Linked DNA regions of Homo sapiens: regions 1 and 3 are each linked to region 2. Evidence: promoter capture Hi-C in 16 types of primary human blood cells and fetal thymus (Javierre and others, 2016). All regions are on one chromosome and are shown on one strand. The core of a region is centred on a gene start or on the middle of the fragment in contact, and the rest is flanking DNA. Distances in the headings are between cores, read along the strand shown. Region 1 overlaps PSMD3 (proteasome 26S subunit, non-ATPase 3). Region 2 holds the start of MED24 (mediator complex subunit 24). Region 3 overlaps CASC3 (CASC3 exon junction complex subunit).

Region 1 (2,970 bases), core at 141-2,640, 68 kb before region 2:
GAGAGAAGCCAAAGCAGTCCATTTGAATACTCATCTGCACAGTGACAAGGGAACCGTCCACTGCCCTGTAGTGTCATTCTTCAAAGTCAGGGGATCAGGACCCTCCCAGCCAAACTCATTTCCCACTACCCTGCAACCTGTACCCCCTACTCCAGTTGAGGTTGCGTTGGGTGACCTCTCTGTTGTTCTAGGAGAGAGAAGGTGCTGCTGCCTCTTTCTTCTGAAGCTTCACCATGGAGGAGGTAGAGAACAGTGGTTAGGAGGAGCACAGCTGTCAGGGCCAGGCACAGTGGCTCACACCTGTCTTCCCAGCACTTTGGGAGGCTGAGGCGGGCACAGTGGCTAACATCGTCATCCCAGCACTTTGGGAGGCTGAGGCGAGCAGATCGTTTGAGTCCAGCCTGGATTCAAACAATCTGCCCGCCCAGGAGTTTGAGACCAGCCTGGGCGACATGGTGAGACCCTGTCTCTGCAAAAAGTACAAAAATTAGCCAGGCATGGTGGCACCTGCCTGTAGTCCCAGCTACTCGGGAGGCTGAGGCAGGAGGATCACTTGAATGCAGGAGGTGGAGATTGCAGTGAACCAAGATTGCACCACTGCACTCTAGCCTAGGTGACAGGGTGACCCCCCTACCTCAAAACAAAACAAAAAAAACCCCACAGATTTTAGAGGTAGAGTTGAATTTGAATCCAAACCCTGACAGTTAGTACCTGTGGGACTTGGGCGAGTGACTTCATTTTGCTGTGCCTCGTTTTCTTCATTTGTTAAACGTGATGAACGGATTGGGAAGCGGGCAGTATAAAGCTCCTAGAGCAGTGCCTGGTACGTAGTGAATGCAGACGAAGTCAGTTTGGTGGTGGTGGTGGCGCCTCCGTGCCAGGAGAGACCTCTCCTTATCCTCTGTAGCTGTAAACTCTCCCTCATGATTCATGGCATGGGCCAGGTCTCAGCCTTCTCCAATTCCACTGACCTTCCAGCACCTGCATTTCCTTAAAATCCTGTATACTCAGTCAGCTCCGTGGATGGGGAAACTCAGAACATCCCTGGAGGCAGGGCAGTGAAGAGTTTCTTGTCTGGGAAAGGGGAAAAGCGTACTGTTCCCCCAACTCCACCTTGAATATTTTCTGACCTTCACATCGCTAAACTCACGAAACGTGATTATTTTGGGGGTGACTGTAACACATTATTTTTTCCAGTGTCAGTGACAACATAGGAAAATATGTTTTGTTTATATGTTGACTTTCCCTAAATTTTCTTTGTTCCCACAAGAAACCATTTTTTGGTCTCATTATTCTGATTTCATCTCTAGAATTATTTCGTTCAGCCCTGTCCAGTAGTATTTGCAGTGGATCCAGGTGTGGTGGTTTAATGTCTCCACTTAGGTTGTAGCCTCTTTGAAGGTTCCTTACATCGTCCTTTGTCTCCATTATGTTGTGTAAAGAAATTTTTTGTTCTCCTGTAACACTTTATTGTGTTTATTAATATTATATTGCCAGCCTCCTTGACTTGTTTTGTTTTTTTGAGATGGGGTCTTGCTCTGTCACCCAGGCTGAAGCACGGTGGCACACTTATGGCCCAGTGCAGGCTCAGACTCCTGGTATCAAGCAGTCCTCCTGCCTCAGCCTCCTGAGTAGCTGGGAATACAGGTGCATGCCACCATGCCTGGCTAGTTCTTTTTTATTTTTTGAGAGATGGGGTCTCACTGTGTTGCCCAGACTGGTCTCAAATTCCTGGCCTCAAGCATTCTCCTGCCTCAGCCTTCCAGGTAGCTGGCACTACCGGCGTGAGCCACCACACCCAGCTCCTCCTTGATTTCTTTGGGAAAGACTGTAATCTTTATTTTTTTATCCCTAGCACCTAACAAAATCTTGGCACATGGTAGACACTCAATAAATATGTTGAAATACATAGTGGATGCTCAATAAATTCTTGGTTACTTGATCAGACTGAGCTTTTCCATGGTAACTTCTGTCCTCTCCTAGCCCATGGACACAGAGGCTGATTTACAGTTCCGTCCCCGCACGGGAAAAGCTGCGTCGACACCCCTCCTGCCTGAAGTGGAAGCCTATCTCCAACTCCTCGTGGTCATCTTCATGATGAACAGCAAGCGCTACAAAGAGGTATCCAGGATGCAGTGAGAGCGATTCATAAGCCCCAAGTGATGCAAGGGGTTTGGCGGGGAGATGGTCCCTGGTGAAGAAATGGAAATAATCATTGATTCTTAAGAACTGTCCCCCACACTCTTTCCCCATAGAGGTATGCGTTTGATCCCACATCCCAGGAGAACCCACTCTTGCTCTGGGCACTGTGGGACAGGGCTTGCAGTGGTCATGCTGTACCGGTCTGTGGGGGATACCAGCGTAGTACATTCTTGGGGAAAAGTAGGGGCATTTGGAGACAGAAAGACCTGGGTTCCAATCCCAGCCATACCCTAGGCAAATTAATTTCTCCCAGCTATATGTAAGATGGGGATAATAGTGCCTACCTTACAAGATGGTTAGCGTTACATAAAATAATTTGTTTAGAAATACTTAGCGCAATGATCTGCATATAGTAAGCTTTCGTGATATTTTCATAAATGGTAGCTGTTATTATGGACTAATAGCTCCATTTGCAAACTGCACTTCTACCACTCCCCCAGCTAGGGCCAGCTTCTTTGTTCATCATAGCCACTGTCACAGGAGCACACTCAGGAAGTAAGTCGCACTCCTTAATTCCCTGGTTTGTTTCCTTTCCTTACCACACTATTTTTGGTTGTTGTTTGGTTGGGGGTTTTTTTGAGATTGGGTCTTGCTTTGTTGCCCATGCTGGAGGGCAGTGGTGTGATCACAGTTCACTTGACCTCCCCGGCTTAAGTGATCCTTCCACCTCAGCTTCTTGGGTAGCTGGGACTACAGGCATGTGCCACCACGCCCAGCTAATCTTTGCATTTTTTTTGTAGAGACAGGATTTCACCTTCTTGCCAAGCT
Region 2 (2,941 bases), core at 67-2,566:
AGGGGTAACTCTTTGTATTTTTGGGTAGAGACTGGGTTTTGCCATGTTACGCAGGCTGGTCTTGAACTCCTGGGCTCAAGCAATCCGCCTGCCTCAGCCTCCCACAATGCTGGGATTACAGCCATGAACCACCGGGGCCCAAATGCACTCCAAGTTTTTTACCCCCAGAACTCTCACTTCTTGGTGGGGGTTTGCGGGAAGCTTACCTGGGAACTAATGGCATACTTCAGGTAGGACAAGATGAGAGGATTGGGGGATGGTCCAATCATGGCCTGCTCTAGTAACGCATCTGCAAGAGGAATAGCAAAACACAACTGAGTGATTACAACTTCTCTGGGTTTATCCCTCCCATCTTTCTTTCCCAGTTCACTTGAGACCTGCCAGGTTGAGAATATCCCAGGTGGCTCCTTTAGGAAAGAATTTCTTCATGTTGATTGCCCATTGGTAGTCACTCCAGCGCTCCTTCCAGGCTTGCAAAATGGCTTGCTTCAGGTTGACCACCTTCATTATTTCACTCTGAGCAGGTGGCAGCGGTGGCGGCCAGCTTTGAGGTGAAAGAAATGGAGCTAAAGAAAAGGACATGAGGTTCTAAGGAGAACCGGGGAAGGCAGAATTAAATAGAAAGGAGAAGATGCGGGAAGATTTAAGCGAGACAGAGGAATTTGAAAGAAAAAGAGCTAAAGGGATAAAGTAAGATCCTGTCAGACTCTCTCCTCCTGAACCGCCCTTCCTTAAACTGGGGCACTAAGAAAGTATCGGCCGAGCGCAGTGGCTCGCACCTGTAATCCCAGCACTTCGGGAGGCAGAGGCGGGCGAATCACCGGAGGTCAGGAGTTCGAGACTAGCCTGACCAACATGGAGAAACCTCGTCTCCACTAAAAATACAAAATTAGCCGGGCTTGGTGGTGCATGCCTGTAATCCCAGCTACTCGGGAGGCTGAGGCAGTAGAATCGCTTGAACCCGGGAGGCGGAGGTTGTTGGGGTGAGCCGAGATCGCACCATTGCACTCCAGCCTGGGCAACAAGAGCAAAACTCCGTCTCTCAAATAAATGAATAAAGAAGTATCAAAGGGACTAATAGATTAAACAGGGCATCAAGGAGTTAAGGCAGTCCTGGTTGCCTAATTACGCCCTTAGCTCTAAAAGCGTCCCTTGGCCACCACCATTCCAAGTCCAGATTTGCTCCCTCATTTCCTCCACCTTCTCCAGCCCTGTAACTATACCTCCCAATTTCCTTTTCATCCACCACCTCCCCAAATTTAAGCCTACCGCACAATCCAGTTCTAGGTGGTAGGCATCGCCATTTTGGCACTTGTCAAGAAGCTCACTTTCTATTGGCTGGGAGTAACAAACGCCAACCAATAGAAATGCAGCAAGGAACGCCCCGCTGTCTTCTGGGAATGGTAGTTCCTTGGACTGAAACCGTATTTGTCTGCGCCGGCGAGGAAACTAAGGGACTCGTCTAGTCGGCCCGCATTGTTCTTCTCCTTTAAGGGAGGACATCCAGGAGCTGAGGCACTACAGAGACTCAGGGACTCGAGGGAGCTCGAAAGGCCGCTCACAACCCGGCGTCGCCCACGACGTCACTGTCGACCGGGCTTCTCCATCATATTCCGACACCCTTTCATTCGTTAGCCCCTAGTTAGTAGGTGCGGCAAGGGTGTGGCGTGGGGGCAAGGGTGTGGCGTTCAGCAATAAGGTCTTTCTCCTTTCCTGGGCTCTTTCTGTTCTCCTAAGCCCCTGGAGCTACCAGAGCTATTCTCATTTCCACAACTATATTCTAAAAGCGACACCGAGGTGCCTTAGTTGCACACATATCACCGTCCCCGAATCTTACAGTCCTATCAGAATCTCCAGGCCCTCCATACAGCTTGGATACAAGGGAAAGTAAAGAGGAAACTAAGGTGAAGGTGATCAAAATCAAAGGAATTCTGAGAAACTGTCACAACTAAGAGGGCTAAGGAGACCTGATGACTAAATGTAATGTGGTTTTCTGAATGCGATCATGGAAGAGAAAAAGAATACTGGGTAAAAACTAAGGAAATCTAAATAAAGGGTGGACTTTAATTAATAATAATGTATCAATATTAGTTCATTAGTTGTTACAAATGCATAATACTAATGCTAAGATGTTAATAAAAAGAGAAATTGGGTGCAGAATATGTGGGGACCCTCTATTACCTTCCATTTTTTTCCTGTAAATTAAAAACTTGTTTTTTTAAGTTTCTTGTTGTTGTTGTTGTTGTTGTTGTTTAAATCTTGCTTATCCCAAAGATCCATATATAAATTATGCCCAGGGCTTTGGCCATAGCCTTTCCTTCCCCCAGTGAGAAACCCGAAAGCAAATGTTACCCACCTCTGGAGGCTCCAATGTCTGAGCCTTCTTATGCATAGCCCTCATCCCTCCCCATGCTATGGACTGGTCATCCCTAACATTTACAACCAGGAATAAGAGTAAATTACTCGGGAGGCTGAGAAAGGAGGATCACTTGAGCTCGGGAGTTCAAATCCAGCCTGGGCAACATAATGAGACTCTCAGCTCTACCAAAATACATAAATAAATAAACATGGAGGCCTTTAGCCAGGGCCCAATATCCTAGTTCACAAGTTCAAGCTCAATCTGTATTCCTCAACAAAGATTCTTTTTTTTTTTTTTTTTGAGATGGAGGCTTGCTCTGTTGCCCAGGCTGGAGTGCAATGGCGCAGTCTCAGCTCACTGCAACCTCTGCCTCCCAGGTTTAAGCAATTCTCCTGCCTCAGCCTCCCAAGTAGCTGGGATTACAGGCGTGTGCCACCACATCCGACTAATTTTTGTATTTTTAGTAGAGACAGGGTTTCGCCATGTCGGCCAGGGTGGTCTCAAAATCCTGACCTCAGCCACCCACCTTGGCCTCCCAGAGTGCTAGGACTGTAGGCATGAGCCACCGTGCCTAGCCTCCAA
Region 3 (2,839 bases), core at 259-2,758, 110 kb after region 2:
GGTCCAAATCTGGGGAGGACAAGGAGAGGAGAGTAACCCTATTCTAAAGCCAGTTCCCTTATCATGAGCCTTAGCTGCTGCCTTTTCCTACCTAGAACTAGCCACACGTCCATTTCCTGGCCCTTTCTAATGGCCTAATGATCCTTTGTGTGTAGACCCAGCACTTTCTGTGTCATGAACAGTGTTACCCAATCTTGATGTGGTAAAAGAGGGAAGAAGATAGTAAAAAGAGAGAGAGAGCACTTGGACTAATTTTTTTCATTTCTGAAATGTGATGGTTGTACAAGTTGTCCTTTAAGGTTTTTTAGGTCAAATTTTTGTAATTATGTGATTCTGGATATGTTCTGGCTGCAGGAATTTTCTGCTGCAGAAAACCAGTACTCATAGGCATTAAAAAAAGCTACCATTTTCCAGCTTGAGGATAAGTGCATTGGGAAATCATGGAGTCATTATCAAGAGTTTGCACATCTGGTTGGGCGCAGTGGCTCATGCCTGTAATCCTAGCACTTTGGGAGGCTGAGGCAGGAGGTTCGCTTGAGCTCAGAAGTTTCAGACCAGCCTGGGTAATGTGGTGAAACTCTGTCTCTACAAAAAATACAAAAATTAGTTGGGCATAGTGGTGTACATCTGTAGTCCCAGCTACTTGTGGGGGCTGAGGTGGGAGGATTACTTGAGCCCAGGAAGTCAAGGCTATAGTCAGTTGAGATCACACCACTGCACTCCAGCCTGGGCGACAGAGTGAGACCCTGTCTCAAAAAAGAGTTGCATGTCTACTCATTCAGTTCTCATTATCTATAGACTAAAATATACATCTCCCCCCTTATGTACTACTATTTTTGAATATATGTAAATTAATAAAATGTAAACTTAAAGTGTTATTGAATGTATAACAGTTTGTTGTTTTTTGTTTGTTTTTGAGACAGTCTCTGTTGTCCAGGTTGGAGTGCAGTGGTGCGATCTCGGTTCACTGCAACCTCTGCCTCCCAGGTTAAAGTGATTCTCCCGCCTCAGCCTCCTGAGTAGCTGGGACTACAGGCACGCACGCATCAGTTCATTGTGTGTTTTTTTTTTTTTTTTTTTGAGACAGGATCTCTCTCTGTTGCTAAGACTGGAGCGCAGTGGCACAATTATGGCTCACTGCAACCTCTACCTCCTGGGCTGAAATGATCTCACACCTCAGCCTCCCAAGTTGCTGGGACTATAGGCGCACACCACCATTCCTGGCGAATTTTTTTTTTTTTTTTTTTTTTTTTGACAGGGTCTCACTCTTTTGCCCAGACTAGTATCAGTGGTGCAATCTTGGCTCACTGCAACCTCCACCTCCTGGGTTTAAGCAATTCTCTTGCCTCAGCCTCCCAAATAGCTGGGATTACAAATTCATGCCACCATGTCTGGCTGATTTTTGTATTTTTAGTAGAGACAGGGTTTCACCATGTTGGCCAGGCTGGTCTCAAACTCCGGACCTCAAGTGATCCACCTACCTCGGCCTCCCAGAGTGTTGGGATTACAGGCGTGAACCACTACATCCAGCCTAGCAGTTGTTTGTCATTGTATGTTTTCTCAGTGAATATCTCATGGGGATCCATGAAAATTTTTAGATCCTAAAAAGGGGTCCGCATAATCAAAAAGGTTGGGAATTTCTGCTCTAAGCCATTTTGAGATGGGAGAGTTCACAACTTACGTCAAAGTATAGTTATTAGGCACTGCATGTTTAAGAGACAATTCATGGGCCAGGTACAGTGTTCATGCCTGTAATCCCAGCCCTTTGGGAGGCCAAGGGAGGAGGATTGCTTGAGCTCAGCAGTTTGAGAACTGCCTAGGCAACATAGCGAGACCTCGTCTCTACTAAAAATAAAAAAAAATCAGCCAGGTGTGGTGGCATGTGCCTGTAGTCGCAGCTACTTGGGAGGCTGAGGTGGGAGGATCACTTGAGCCCAGGAGATTGAGATTGCAGTAAGCCATGATTGTGCCACTGCACTCCTGGGCAACAGAGCAAGACCCTGTCTCAAAACAGAAAAAAAAAAAAAGATAATTCATGGAGAGAGAGATTATCAAGGAAGATTAAGCTCCTCTTATATGTTAGGTATCGTATAGTAAGTCTCCCTTCCATTCTTATCCTCTGGGCCCATTAGAGGCTGCCGCTGTTTTTTTGTTTTTTTGTTTTGCTTTTTCGAGATGGAGTTTTGCTTTTGTCACCCAGGCTGGAGTGCAGTGGCACAAACTTGGCTCACTGCAACCTCCGCCTCCCGGCTAATTTTTGTATTTTTAGTAGAGACAGAGTTTCACCATGTTGGCCAGGCTGGTCTCGAACTCCTGACCTCAAGTGATACGCCTGCCTCGGCCTCCCAAAGTGCTGGGATTACAGGTGTAAGCCACTGCGCCCAGCCTGCCACTTTTAATAATTCTTGCATATGTTCCAGGAATACCTATGTGGATATATATGTATGTATGTGTGTATTTTTTTTAATGTGATATTTTTAAAATAGTGTCTTTTTTTTATTATTACTATTTTTTGCGACAGAGCCTTGCTCTGTCGCCCAGGCTGAAGTGCAGTGGCGCAGTCTCTGCTCACTGCAAGCTCTGCCTCCCTGGTTCAAACGATTTTCCTGCCTCAGCCTCCCGAGCAGCTGGGATTACAGGTGCCTACCACCAAGTGCGGCTAATTCTTATATTTCTAGTAGAGATGGGGTTTTGCCATGCTGGCCAGGTTGGTCTCACACTCCTGACCGCAGGTGATCTGCCTGCATTGGCCTCCCAAAATGTGATTACAGGCGTGAGCCACTGTGCCAGGCCAAAATAGGATCTTTATTTTCTAGAAATATGGGTAAGAATATTGATT

Evidence for each region. Contacts are between HindIII fragments. The CHiCAGO score rates a contact against its expected background, and 5 or more counts as called.
Region 1: a contact is called between a fragment that was not itself captured here and the fragment with the promoter of MED24 in region 2, in 1 of 17 cell types (erythroblasts). The highest score is 5.6, in erythroblasts.
Region 3: a contact is called between a fragment that was not itself captured here and the fragment with the promoter of MED24 in region 2, in 16 of 17 cell types (total CD8 T cells, activated CD4 T cells, total CD4 T cells and 13 more). The highest score is 10.7, in total CD8 T cells.

The regions. Positions count from the first base shown.
Region 1 is chr17:39,984,592-39,987,561 of GRCh38, forward strand. It overlaps PSMD3 (proteasome 26S subunit, non-ATPase 3), which reads left to right. Exons shown (of 12, transcript NM_002809.4): 3 at 1,984-2,121. It overlaps LOC124904000 (a long non-coding RNA gene), which reads right to left. Exons shown (of 3, transcript XR_007065751.1): 3 at 2,107-2,191. Among named protein-coding and RNA genes, the nearest start is that of PSMD3, 5.3 kb to the left of the region's middle. The HindIII fragment of the contact is 2,333 bases long and covers 225-2,557 here.
Region 2 is chr17:40,053,092-40,056,032 of GRCh38, forward strand. It overlaps MED24 (mediator complex subunit 24), which reads right to left and starts at 1,317. Exons shown (of 26, transcript NM_014815.4): 1 at 1,270-1,317; 2 at 378-544; 3 at 207-289. The coding sequence starts at 507. RefSeq lists an enhancer at 1,517-1,576. The HindIII fragment of the contact is 3,100 bases long and covers 200-2,941 here.
Region 3 is chr17:40,158,484-40,161,322 of GRCh38, forward strand. The region is part of intron 3 of CASC3 (CASC3 exon junction complex subunit); the gene reads left to right. Among named protein-coding and RNA genes, the nearest start is that of MIR6866, 2.0 kb to the right of the region's middle. The HindIII fragment of the contact is 7,918 bases long and covers 1-2,839 here.